Linked DNA regions of Homo sapiens: regions 2, 3, 4 and 5 are each linked to region 1. The links are contacts of gene promoters, found by promoter capture Hi-C in blood cells and fetal thymus (Javierre and others, 2016). All regions are on one chromosome and are shown on one strand. The core of a region is centred on a gene start or on the middle of the fragment in contact, and the rest is flanking DNA. Distances in the headings are between cores, read along the strand shown.

The links. The method cuts DNA at HindIII sites, captures the fragments that hold promoters and counts their contacts. A CHiCAGO score of 5 or more calls a contact.
Region 2: a contact is called between the fragment with the promoter of ZNF32-AS2 here and the fragment with the promoter of MAPK8 in region 1, in 4 of 17 cell types (total CD4 T cells, non-activated CD4 T cells, total CD8 T cells and 1 more). The highest score is 15.3, in total CD4 T cells.
Region 3: a fragment that was not itself captured here is called in contact with the fragment with the promoter of MAPK8 in region 1 in 1 of 17 cell types (naive CD8 T cells); the score reaches 5.7 in naive CD8 T cells.
Region 4: a fragment that was not itself captured here is called in contact with the fragment with the promoter of MAPK8 in region 1 in 4 of 17 cell types (activated CD4 T cells, naive CD8 T cells, total CD4 T cells and 1 more); the score reaches 9.1 in activated CD4 T cells.
Region 5: the fragment with the promoter of ZNF22 here is called in contact with the fragment with the promoter of MAPK8 in region 1 in 6 of 17 cell types (activated CD4 T cells, non-activated CD4 T cells, total CD4 T cells and 3 more); the score reaches 17.6 in activated CD4 T cells.

What each region holds. Positions count from the first base shown.
Region 1 is chr10:48,305,404-48,307,947 of GRCh38, forward strand. MAPK8 (mitogen-activated protein kinase 8) reads left to right here and starts at 1,274. Exons shown (of 12, transcript NM_001323329.2): 1 at 1,274-1,418. RefSeq lists a silencer at 905-1,854. The HindIII fragment of the contact is 3,503 bases long and covers 1-2,544 here.
Region 2 is chr10:43,644,659-43,647,202 of GRCh38, forward strand. ZNF32-AS2 (ZNF32 antisense RNA 2) reads left to right here and starts at 1,284. Exons shown (of 3, transcript NR_047558.1): 1 at 1,284-1,639; 2 at 2,454-2,544. ZNF32 (zinc finger protein 32) reads right to left here. Exons shown (of 3, transcript NM_006973.3): 2 at 1,406-1,544; 3 at 1-143. The coding sequence starts at 1,475. All of the region lies in intron 1 of ZNF32-AS3 (ZNF32 antisense RNA 3), which reads left to right. It overlaps ZNF32-AS1 (ZNF32 antisense RNA 1), which reads left to right. Exons shown (of 2, transcript NR_047557.1): 2 at 192-389. RefSeq lists an enhancer at 978-2,177. The HindIII fragment of the contact is 3,514 bases long and covers 1-2,544 here.
Region 3 is chr10:51,702,720-51,705,263 of GRCh38, forward strand. The region is part of intron 3 of PRKG1 (protein kinase cGMP-dependent 1); the gene reads left to right. Among named protein-coding and RNA genes, the nearest start is that of CSTF2T, 4.4 kb to the left of the region's middle. The HindIII fragment of the contact is 1,192 bases long and covers 679-1,870 here.
Region 4 is chr10:44,960,890-44,963,433 of GRCh38, forward strand. All of the region lies in intron 1 of RASSF4 (Ras association domain family member 4), which reads left to right. Among named protein-coding and RNA genes, the nearest start is that of RASSF4, 2.4 kb to the left of the region's middle. The HindIII fragment of the contact is 515 bases long and covers 1,023-1,537 here.
Region 5 is chr10:44,999,645-45,002,188 of GRCh38, forward strand. It overlaps ZNF22 (zinc finger protein 22), which reads left to right and starts at 1,279. Exons shown (of 2, transcript NM_006963.5): 1 at 1,279-1,334. LOC124902530 reads left to right here. Exons shown (of 3, transcript XM_047426129.1): 3 at 1,136-2,544. The coding sequence ends at 1,765. It overlaps ZNF22-AS1 (ZNF22 antisense RNA 1), which reads right to left and starts at 1,159. Exons shown (of 4, transcript NR_126421.2): 1 at 886-1,159; 2 at 642-772. RefSeq lists a silencer at 1,319-1,668 and an enhancer at 1,395-1,895. The HindIII fragment of the contact is 6,687 bases long and covers 1-2,544 here.

The DNA of each region.
Region 1 (2,544 bases), core at 24-2,523:
ACTGTATTGCCTGGCACTGAATGGGCATGCAATAAATAATTATTGCAGGAACAAAGGATGGCAGGAAGGAAATTAAGAAGGTTGAGAGGGAGGGAGAGAGGAAATGGGAAGAGAATGAATGAATAATCATCTGTATGTTCCCTTTCAGAATCACCAGAAACAGGCCAGCCCCACATGTAATAGGAAAGTAGTTTACCTGAAATCATTCATTTATTCAACAAATATTTATATATTCATTATTAAAGTAACTTACTTGTTTCTGATTGTGAACATAACTATTCCTCTCGGAAAACATGAGAAAATACCCAAAGTATAAACGAGAACCAAGTCACCCTTTATTCCATAGTCCAATGATGAACCATTGTTAACATAATTTGGTGTATTTCTTTCCAGGTTTTTTCTATGTGTATATATAGTATCTAAGTGGGACCATTCTATATATGACTTGTTTCTTGCTTCTTTCTCTTAATGATACATTGTGAACATGTTCCTATGTTGTTAAGAATTCCTTGAACACATGGCATTTAAATTGCTAAAATGTATTCTACCGAATGGTGTAGGTAGTTCAAACGCCTTTCCACCCGTTGTTGGATATTTAAAGGACTTGTCAATTTATCGCTTCTGTAACATTTACACGCTTTGTGGGGCCTCAGAAGTAAACCAGGTAATGCAAGGAATCTGGGAAGAGGTGGATTTGCAAGGAATCTCGGAGGAGGTGGATTTTGGAAAAACTGGAGGCAGCTTTTCCCGGGCAGCTGAAGAGAACACTTATCTCTCTGTAGGTTTCTGGGACCCGGACAGGTGTCCTCAGAATGGAACATATTGTCGGTCAAGGTAACCAGCTCTTCATCACTCAGGTGTGTGTACCGGAAGGGGGTGCCTGTTCGCTGCGCAGGTTAGGCCTAAGCGCACCTGCCCTTCAACCCTGTGCCGACGAGGCCCGAAGGCTTAAGCTCTGACCTGGCTACCGCCGCCAACCAGATGCGGTCCCCTGGGGCCACGCGCCGCCACGTGCCGCCACAGGGCCCGCCCCTCCCGCTCCAGGCCACGCCCCTCACCCACAGCCCTCGGAGGCTCTCTCCGCGGCTCCGCCTCCAAGCGACCTCCGCAAGTCCTCTCGTAACCCCTGGAGTAGCGCCGTCCCCGGGCGGCGGCCCCGCCCCCGCAATCCGGGCCCCGGGGCTGCCCCGCCCCGCCGGCCGCTCGGGAGGCGCGGGGGCGGGGCCCTGCGCGATGACGTGCGCGGGCGTGCGCGGTGACGGCCCGCGTCTCTGTTACTCAGCCGAGCGGCCGAGGCCGGACGACGCGGCTTGGATTGCGGAGCCGCGAGCAGCGCTGGGTAACGGCCGCGGCGACCACCCCGGACGGCCCCTGTCCCCGCTGGCGGGCTTCCCTGTCGCCGTTCGCTGCGCTGCCGGGTGAGTGCGGCGGACGCCGCAGGGCCGGGACGGCAGGCGGCCCCGTCGTGTTTATGTTATTGTGCCGCTGCCGCCGCCGCCGCCTTCTCCTCAGCCGTAACCCCCTCCTGGGAGTGGGGGCGGGAGCGCGCGGTGGGCGGGGGCGGCGCGGGAACAATAGCGGCGCGGAGGCGGGGGCCAGCCGAGGGGGCGTGGGGCTGCGGGACCTGGGTGCGCTCCGCTGCCCGCCAGCCCGCCTGCCGCCGCGAGCCCCGCCCGCCTGTCCTCTCGCGTCCTCTTCGCGTGGGTCCTGCCTCCGCGGCGGGAGAAGAAAATGGAGCGGGGGGGTGGGTGGCAAGTTCTGAAACACTTCGGCAAGGGTCGGACGGAGGTGTCTTTGCGGCCCGCCGCGCCCTGGCTGCCTCCGGGGCGGCGGGGAGCCGGGGAGAGCGCTTCTGCCGGCAGGTCCCCAAGCCTGCCCCGCGCCCATAGGGACCGTATTTTGCTTCTCGATGCTTTCTTTGTGCTAACGTTCTGGGCGAACGCAGGCAGCAGCGCTGAAAAGGGCCAGAGTGGCCTGCAGCTCTGGGCTGCAGGGCAGAGAGCCCAGGCCCGTGGCTCGGGTGGGAGGTGTCCATCCAGCTTGGCCCGAGCTTCGGTGGTCAGCGCGCATTTCTCTTGAGGGTCATCGGTGGTGACCTTTTGACTTTTTCACCCCACCCTCCCATCTCTTTGTCTCGCATTTGTGTTCCCGATTCAGAGATGGTAGAACCAAGTCCATTTTAAAGTACCCTGATGAACACTTTCCGTTTTTATTTCTGAAAGTTCCCTGCTTGGTCTTTACTGCGAATTTAATAACATGTTGACTACATGGCATTGTCCAGTGATTACTATTTTTACCTCTGAAATCCAGCGATCTTTCCAGTAGAATTCTGGTCCGTCAGTCCATTGTGTTTTGAGATAAGCATCCAGCAAGTACCTCCTTGGCAATTAGAACATCTGTTTTTTCATTCATTCATTCATTCAGCAGCTGTTTAGTACCGTACTCAGATGAAGAGGTTTGGTGTGAAGGTAAAGTATCCTTTCATGGAAGAGGATGCTTTGACTGAAGTATAATAGATGGACCTTTAAATGAGACAGTTACATA
Region 2 (2,544 bases), core at 34-2,533, 4.7 Mb before region 1:
TCCAGGTGAATCTTCCTGTAGTGTCTTCGAATCTGGGGATTTTTGTTCCAGCTTCTCTCTTCTGAAAGAATTTTGGATATCCCAGCTTGAGGATCCTGTAGCCTCAGAGTGGTCATATTTGTGGTGGGCTTCAGTCATCACATCTGATAAAATGAGAGGGAAGTCATATAAGAAGCACCAATAATGCTGAGTTAGAATAGGGAAAAAGAAACATAATACTTTGAGTGCTTATGATGTGCCAGGCCTTATTCTTTGCATAGACAATGCAATCCTGAAAACAATGCCATGAGAGTGATACAGATAATGGGAGCAAAGGGAGCCTGTCAAAGGTCACAGAGCTAGGTAAGTTAGAGCTGACTCAAATAGGCATTCTCCATAGCAGTGTACTGCCTCTAAATTTAATTTAGGCCAACAAATAACCTTGTAAGATAGACATGGTTTTCTCTATTTTACAGGTCAGAAAACAGGCTCAGAAAATTTAGAAAACTATACAGAATCACACAGAGCCCCATACCCAACTTTTATCTGACTCCAAAACAGGTGTGGATCCAGGCTATATAAGGCCTAAAACTTTCCCATTTTAGAGGCACCCTTTTAAGAAAATGTATAAAATTAAGCACAGGGTCTTGGAGAGACCAATCCAAGTGAGGGGTCCTAAAACTGAAGCTGCATTTGCTTCTTCAGAAATCCACCTCTGTCCAATCTGTTCTGACAATAGAATAAGCACCATGACCTCAGAAAATATGTAGCACAATCCTGGGTACTTTACATCTATCATTGCTAATCCCTGCAACCCTACAAGATAGAACTTATTGTCCTATTTTACAGACGAACCTGGAGCTTAAGGAAGTTAAATAACCTGTCTGATACTGCAGATCTAGCCATGGCAATTATAGAATCTGATCCAAGGAATTTTTCCCATTAAAATCCTTGCTATTTTCAGTCTACTAAGCTATGGCAAAACTGAAATCAATTTTGGTTTGGAAGTTATTCTCTATGCAGATATTGACTTTTTTTTTTCCGAATACTGCCCTGCATCTGAGCCTCCTGGTGCACTTTAAATATGGGTCCATTCATCACCATTAACAGTTTTCTTGGTGTCTGTCACTCCAGGGTAATCTTCTCCTTGTTCCCTTGCCTTATTCAGAGACAGTGCTGAGATTTAAGCTGCTCATTCATTCTCAGAGACTACTTCAACGCTACCTCCATATCAAGATGGTTCTCTTGCTCTGTTTCTACTATTACTTCTAACTCCAGCTCACAGGCTTTTCTTATAACCCTAGGAACAGCAAGCTCTACCAAAGCAAGGTCTCCTCTGCTTCCTCAGACTGCCGACCAGTGCTGAGAACAGGGACACTGAATATCTGTGAGCTGAGCGCATCCAGCCATCAACTGACTCACTCACTGAAGAACGCTACATTCTGGGCATATCTTCCATGACAGTCCAGCAGGGTAGCTGTTGGAAATCCAAACATGTCCACTCCTGCTTACGACCTCAGTCACCACCTCTTCATATGATTCTTCCATGGGCTGTTCCTGAGCACCTGAGGGAGAAAAACAAACAGAAACAAACAGGAAAGGGCAGAATAATTGATATGTGAGAAGGAAAAAGTCAACAGTTGTTGAGACATAAGTGAATGTAAGAAACCTAGATTGTTTGACATAATGTCAGTTACTAAAATATCACTGCAAAATGGGCCCAAAGGTACCAGGACCACACACAAATGAGTCTAGGAGGAAGCAGGATGTGGGAAAGCAGAGAACACATAAACATATATCTCTTCCTGCCAATCCCAAGTTAATAGTCACTCCTGTTTACACTTTGGTCTTGGCATGTAATTGGGATCTTCCATTTTGGTTCCCCACCTAACCACCTACTACTTTCTTCCCTCCAAGCCCCAGAGGAATTCAGAATCTAAGAAAACAACATTTCAGCCTTCATGATTGGTTGGAGCCAATCAGCTCTCCAGTTATCTGTAGTTACAAAGACTTAACAAGAGAGTCCATTTGTTACCACTGAACAATTCTTAGGAGGCTCCAGACCCAGACTCGCCTTTCTCTTGCTCTTGAAGATACAAGAATACCAGTTCTGACCAAGTGTAAACACTTGTCAATTCTTGGAAAAGAAAGACCTACTCTGGACTCCAAGCCCAAGGCACTCCAACTAGGTTAAGTAACTTGCCCAGAAACCCACAGAAAATAAGGAGTCAAAGTGGAGCAAAGGTTCAAATCCAAGACTTTCTGGATCCAAAATGTATGCTCTTACATTAGACAGTTGTCTAGTTCCTAATCACTAAAGAGCTGGTCAGAATGCTTATAAAATTGAACAGAAAGGAAGAGAGTTTGACCAGATTGAAGTGCTCTTTCAGATCCTAGGAATCCTCTTGTATGTGCTCTAAATTATTTTTTAATTTTTTTAAAATTCTGAGTCAAGATTTTGCTCTGTTGCCCAGGCTGGAGTACAGTGACTCAATTACAGCTTGCTGTGACTTTGAACTCCTGGACTCAACGGATCCTCCCACTTCAGCCTCCCAAATAACTAGG
Region 3 (2,544 bases), core at 25-2,524, 3.4 Mb after region 1:
GGATTTCACTCCTGTCAGCCAGGCTGGAGTGCGATGGCGTGATCTTGGTTCACTGCAACCTCTGCCTCCTGAGCTCAAGCAATTCTCCTGCCTTAGCCTCCCGAGTAAAGACTACAGGCGTGTGCCACTACTCATGGCTAATTTTTTGTGCGTTTTGTAGAGACGGGGTTTCACCGTGTTGGCCAGGCTGGTCTTGAACTCCTGAGCTCAAGCGATCTGCTTGCCTCAGTCTCCCAAAGAGTTGGCATTACAGGCATGAGCCATTGCACCTGGCCTCAGACTGATTTTTGAACTTCTACCCTGAAATTGCTTTGGGCCTTCATTTATAAGTCATACTAGAAAATCGGTACATTAACTGAAAAGTATACTTTATTTTTAACAAAGAACAGGATTATGCAACAAAATCACCCAACTTCCTGACCAGATTTGGCAAAAATATCATGCTTAGCTAATTCCAAATATCAAACCTTACATCAGAATACAAAAATTCTATACACTTTGAAGGAATTTTTTAAAAAAAGATTCACTATAGAGTGTAAGGAAAAAAGAAAAGATTCACTATTGATTCAGTAGACAAATTCCAAAGACAAGAACTACAAATATTTTGAGTAATGACAGTCATTTTTGAAATAAGTGTACGGGTCCTTCAAGGAATAGCTCAAATAAACTACTCCACAAAGCTTTCTATGACCTTTCTACCCTTTCCCCTAGGTTAGAAGTAATTTTGTTTTTCTTTGGATATAAACCTTGATATACCTTGTACCTTTCTGATTATAGTAACTCCTTTACCTTTCAGCAAAATTGTGATTTTCCTTCTAAACTGTAAAATCATTATATATCCCCCTTTATCAGTTAACTAAGTGCCTCAAATTTATTATTTCATTCCATCAATATTTATTTCAAGCACTGACAATACAGCAGTGAAAACAATAGTCTGCCAGAAAAGAAGGTCTGTAAATGTGGTCCTTGGTTCAGTGGCATCAGCATCACCAGGAAACATCTTAGAAATTAAAAGTTTGGGGCCCTACTCCAAATCTATTGCATCAGAAACAGAGAAATCTTTGAACAAGTTTTCCAGGTAATTCTAATGCAAGCTCAATTTTGAGAACCACTACATTATAAGATTGCAATCATAGTTGCCAGGCACAGTGACTCACGCCTGTAATCCTGGCACTTTGGAAGGCGGAGGTGGGTGGATCATTTGGTCAGGAGTTCAAGACCAGCCCGGCCAACATGGTGAAATGGTGAAACCCCGTGTCTACTAAAAATACAAAAATTAACCAGGTGTGGTGGTGCATGCTTCTAATCTCAGCTATTTGGAGGCCAAGGTTTGAGGATTGCTTGAACCCGGGATGTGGATGTTGCAGTGAGCTGAGATCGCACCACTGCACTCCAGCCTGGGCAACAGAGTGAAACTGTCTCAAAAAAAAAAAAAAAAATTAAATAAATAAATAAATAAAATTAAATTAAATAAAAAGAATGCAATTATAGTATAGTAGCTGATAGATGATAGATAGACAGACAGACAGACAGATAGATAGATAGATAGATAGATATTTTGTTTTCACCTCTGTATCCTCAGCACCTGGGATAGAGCTCAGCACAGGTGGATGTTCATTATATATTTGTTGAATGAATGACAGGAAATGACTTTAAAGTTTGCTAATTCACAAATATTTCATTTTACCAAGGACGGAGCCTGTGGCATTGAATAACGTGCCTCAAATCAAAGACAAGACATGCTGCCAGGACCCTTGTCATTTTATTCCTAGGTCAGTGATAGTTCTTCCATGTTGCCATTTGATGAAATGGATATGCAATAAAGTATGTAGAGATGGAAGAGAGTGATATGTTTTAGATTATCAAGGAAAGCTTTCTGATGGAAATGAGATTTAGGGAAGGGTTATAATCTGGCATAGATAGGTAGAAGATGAAGAAAATAAACCAGAAGCTAGTAATAGCCAACGCAAGAAATTGGGACCTGGTGTTTTTTACGGCCTCAGAGGAAACCAAGAGAGTTGGTGAGGAGTGTGACAAAAGATGGGCTTCTGGGACAGATTATAAAAGGTTTTGAAGTTCAGATTCATGAATGTGAACTTGATGTGAGAGTCAGTAGGCTTCCTTCACCACCCCCTGAAACATGAACATAGAATAATAATGGCAGAGGCTTAAGAATACCAAACTTATCTAATCCTTTTCTATATATTTTCTACCTAGGCTGTTCTTTTTTAATACCTTATAACTTTTAATCTAAATTGTGGTGGTTGTTCTTCCTACATATAACACACTCTGTTACGTAGCTTCATTCTCATTACTTCTCTCCATCCCTTCACATATTCTCCTCTGGCTAAATTGTACCACTCACTTTTTATCATACATGATCTGTATTTTTTCACCTCCTAGCTTTTTGTGATACTATTTGTCAGGGATGCTTCCTTTTTTCCTCTTCTTCTCTTCCCTCCCCCATGTTTAAATCTTTCTGTTCTTCAATGCTCACCTCAAAGACTTCCATTTAGAGTACTGGTTTGGTACTCATTATCTTCT
Region 4 (2,544 bases), core at 30-2,529, 3.3 Mb before region 1:
AAACCATTTTTTTTTAAGTTAGAAGTGAATTGGTGAAGTAACAGGTAAATGTAGACCATCCTGCCTTCTGTTCCTCTGTGTGGTTCCTTAGCTACTTCTGCCAGGACAGCAGGTTAGGGGAGAAGACAGGAAGGGAGAGGGTCAGAGGAGAAAGAGGAAGGGAGGGAAGAGGAGAGATGAAACTCATTAAACTTAGGTTAAAAAAATGCTGGCCGGAAATTGTCATGGGCTGTTTCAGCACTTTGTCAGTGTATGTGAAGGCTGTTGTCATTAGTTCTAGCCATAATTCTCTCAGTGTGTAGTGCTGGTGATTTGACAACAAAAAGGTTGATGCTACAGATTAAAGTGTCTGTCTGAAACTCAGGAGATTGGGTTGTATTTCCACCATGAAGCTCCAGTGGGTAGCCTGGAGGTCGAGAACAGAATCAAGGTCCAGGGTCGCCCTGGGTCAGGACCAAGTGGACCATGACAGATAACAAAGAACATGAACGAAACTTGGGTGTGTGTCAGAGTTCAGATTCTGGACGTGCAAAGCCTCAAAGGGGAGACCTAACTAGGGGATCTGCCAGAAAGCCCTCTGCCCTGGGCCCCTGGGGTCTGGGGCCTGGTTTCAGGTGTCAGCTCAGACTCTCTCCTCATTCATGGCCACTCCTGCAGGCAGGCCTCACATTCCCATCTCTGGGGCTCCACAGTCTCTCCAGAGCCCCCAACTCCCAGTGTCAATAAGAATAGTAATGGGAGCCTCTTTTCATTATGGGTGAGCCCAACACAAGGCCCATCTTACAGGTCTCCTCATTCGTCTTCACAGAAGTCATCGAGGATTATAGTTATTTAATTGATGAGGAGCCCAAGGTTCAGAGAGGGAACTGGACTTGCTTAAGGTAACAGAGCCAGGCAGTCACAGAGCAGAGCTTTAAACCCAGAGCCTTGCAAAGGCTAGGTGGTTATTCTCTCACAGAGTATGTTTGGGGAAATTGTTTTAAAATAAAGAAAATCAAATAAGAAGTGGCTGCACTTCCTAAAGCTTCAACAGTTTTCTTATTTTTGTAAAAGAGAAACTTGTAGTTCCCGGGGTCTCCTTTTCTGGCTGTCCCACCTTCTGCCCTAGGATATACTGTTGAGGAAGAGGCCCGGAACCCCCTCCCTTTGCCCTGCCTGACCTTGGGAAGCAGGGGTGGGGTGTCATTGAGCCCCATAGCTGCAGTGCTGGGAAGAGCCCTGAAGACTCTCTATCAGCTGCCACAACAGCTCTGGCTAAACTGATGCCCAAGAGACGGCGCAACACGCTAGGATCACAGGCCAAGTTAATGCCACAGCAAAACTCACATGCAAGGCTCTACAACGTTCCTCTGCCTCCTCTTTCTTGCTGTGACAGGTTTCAGCAGAGATTCTAAACCTAAGATCTGGGGATCTGGGAGTACATGGACAAGAGCTGTCTCATCTCCCTGCAGTGATATGCAAATTGTGTGTGTGTTTGCACGTGGATGCAGATTGCAACAACATGCACATACATGCATTTTCTGGGGAGAGTGCACTAAGCTTTCAAGAGACTCCAAAGGACTCTATGACCCAAAAGATTCTGGGACCCTTTTGTCTCACAGGGCCCTTATGTCCCCAGCAGTGACATGTGGCACACAGGCCTGGGGCAGTGGACAGCACAGGTGAGGGCAGCCGTAGAGAGCCTCCAGAGCAGCCCTGCAGCAGCAGGCACCCAGAGGGGTCTGCCCCTCTGCATTGCACTCCCAGCCCCAGGCAATCGGGATATTGGACAGTGCCCATTTTGAGCACGTTTGGCCCGAAAACCATAGCTAAGAAGATCTTTGTTTCTGTGGATCTTCTCTTCCATAGGCTAGAGGTGAGCCTGGTTGGTGGGGAAGTTGAGGAGTGGTTCAGGGGGTTCCAGGAGCAGAGAATGTATGTTTAAGGTGTAAGGGGGGAGCAGGAGGACTGGAAATGGTTTTCTTGTCCCAAATTGCTTTGCCTTGAAACAAGGGCAGAAGCCAGAAGTCTTGCCCACTGGGAAGGCTGGTCTGCGATCTACATGGCTGCTCAGGGCCAGGCTCTCAGAGGAAGGGGAGCTGTATCAGGGAGGCCTGGATGCTGGACTGGACTCAGAGAGACCTGTCAGTGAGAGGCCAGAACCGCAGCGGGGAGTAAAGGTGAGCTGGGCCTGTGTGGTCAGTCCAGGGCAAGGCGGGAGTGGAGGTGGAGGGGAGCTCTGTGCCCGCCTCTCCTGGACTCCCCTGGTCTCCATCACCTCCACCTGGACAGTGCAGAGTCTTCTGGGGCAGGGAGGAGTGAGTTGAGCCAGAGGGATGATGGCGGGAGTGGAGAGGAGGGGTCTGGTGATTGGAACTGGGCAGCAGGAGGGGACAGCAGTGTGGAAGGAGGTGGGAGCAGCAGCTGCTGAGTCGCCGCCTGCCATCTACAACCAGACAGCCGGCTCTCACCACAAAAATGCTTGGCTGAGGGTACCCCCTCAGAGGCACCTGGTTTCGGCAGACGCTGCAACTTCTTCACTGGCCAGGCTCCTGCCATTTGCTG
Region 5 (2,544 bases), core at 29-2,528, 3.3 Mb before region 1:
TTCATTCATTCAACAGCTATTTACTGAGTGTCTGTTCCCTGCTGAGCACTGTTTTCAGCACTGCAGACACAATAAAGAACTAAAGAGACAGATCATGAGAGGCATCGGGTGCCACTGCGAGGTCCTTGGCTTTGCTCTAATAAGTTGGGAAGCCTTTGAAGGTTTTGAACAAATGAATGACATGATCTAACTTAGGTTTAAGAGGATTACTCTGGGGCCGTGAATAGACTGTAGGGCAACCCGTCTGGAAGCCAATATAATAATCCAGAAGGTGGATGAAGGTGGCTTGGTGGTTATAGCAGTGGAAGTGTTGAAAGTGGCTTGATAATGAATATATTTTAACGATGAAGCCGACAGAATTTGTGGATAAATCACAGGTGAATTTTGGATGAAAAAAAGAAGAGACAACAGTGACATCAAGGTTTTTGGCTTGAGCAACTGGAAAGATGATGGGATCTTCACCCATCCCTGGGAAGAAGACTGTTGCAAGAACAGGTTAGGTAGATATCAGGAATTCATTTGGGGGGTATGTTAGGTTTGGGATGTCCATTACACATGCAAATGCAGCTCTTGAGTAATCAGTTCGATATACAAGTCTAAAGTTCAATAACATTTATGTCCCACAGTCAGACTGGAGTTACCAATGCGGGAGTCTTCAGCATGCAGCAATAGCATTGGAAGCCAAAAGGCGGAGGAGCTCCCCAGGGAGTGGGGGAACACGGAGGTCAGCTGGTCAGATGACTGAGCACGGCCAGGATGGCTGAGGAGGAGCCTGGAAGGAATAAGAACAAAGAGAGATCATTACTAATGAGCAACAAAAGGGGTGTGTTGAAATCAGACTTTGGAGCCACAAAGAACCATTCCAATTCTGGGTCGTCCGCTTACACACGGTGAACGGAGCACATTTCTTCTCTGAGCCTTGGTTCCTTTCCTGTAAATGGAGTATAACCACTCCCATCTTGCAGGAGCTTTTTGGTGATAATTAAGGTGACTTCGTGAAAAGTACCAGGGTCTCAAAAATCTCAAAATTTGTGGAAAGTATGCAGTTTCTAGGTTGGAGAGGCTAGAGTTTGGTTTCAAAAGCCTCGACCACACACAGGGGCGGTTACAGCTCTTGAGGTCCCGGGGGTCACAGGACGCCTTCCGAGTTGGGGGGAGGAGAAAACAAAACCACAGGAAGAAACGAACAACGCTTTCGGGTGGGCCCGGGACCATAGAGGGTCGCTCCGCCACTTTCCTAGAGCGACCGCGGCGGCGCCAGAGCGCGGCGAGGCCCTCACTTCCGGCGGCGCGGGAGGCGCCCAGCGAGCCAGAGTGGTGGCTGGTCCCGCGCGGTGAGTGGGATTGGGGCACTTGGGGCGCTCGGGGCCTGCGTCGGATACTCGGGTCCGCTCGGGAGCGCGCTGGCCGCAACGAGGGCGGCGCGGGCCCGGGCGATGGCGTGGCTTGCGTCTCCCGCCTCCGGGCAGGGCCTGGCCGCCGGGCGGGGGCGGGAGGGCCACGCGGGCCCAGGGTGGGGCCGCGGCCTGCGCGGCGGGCGGGCCGGGTCAATGAGGAGCGGCCGGCGGAGTGCTGGGAACGGGAGGCTTGGACTGGGGGCCCGGGCGAGGCGCGGCCCGCGGCGGGTGGAACTGGGCGGGTGAGCAGCAGCCCCGGCCCCTTCCGTCGCTCGGAGCGTTCGAGGACTAGATACGTGGAACAAATGCTTAGGCAGCACAGGGCTGCTCTGAGCGGTTTTCAGATTCAGACTCATTGCAACTTCTAACATCTTGATGGTGTTGCCACTTTATCATTACCCTCCCCATTTTACGAGGAAACTGAGGCACATTCCAGTTAGCTGGGTGTGCAAGAACAGCAGCTTCTGTCACTCAGGTTTAACTTCGTGCTTGCCCCTGCTGGGGAGCTATGCAAAGCACGGGTCGCCGCGCTGGACTGAGCAATGGAAGATGTGGCTGCCACTAAGAGTACAGGCTCTGGAGTCAAACTGCTAGGGTCTGGGAACCCGGCCAGTGCCTTCTAGCATTGTGCCCTCGTTTCCTTAACTTAAAACGGAAATAACTGCATAAAGGTGCCAGGAGAATTAAAGAGCTAGCACAGAATCAAGTTACACAGTGTCTGGCACATACTAGTATGATTGCCTCATCCGTAGGTGGATTTGACAGTCTGAGTTTCTGACTAGATCTGACTTCCATTGTATTAAATGCGTGTGCTTTTATGTATAATGACCATTATAGTTATTAAAAAAAAAAAAAAGCAACACCAACACCATGTACCTAACACAATGTCTCCTGTGTGGTAGATGTTCTGTAAATATTTGCTTAAGTTAAGGAGTGGGTAGTCCTAACTGTAATCTTGTGTTATATGCGGCTTACTCTTACGCTGACCATAATTACAGCTGATGTAATTATTAAATATCCAGATAAAGTCCTGGACCTAAAGTCTCAATTATACAATAAGATGAAAGGAAGGCAAGAAAAATTATGTTTTTGTTTTCATTTATTTGCTTTATATGTTTGTATGCAAAGAAACCCAGAATAATTGTTT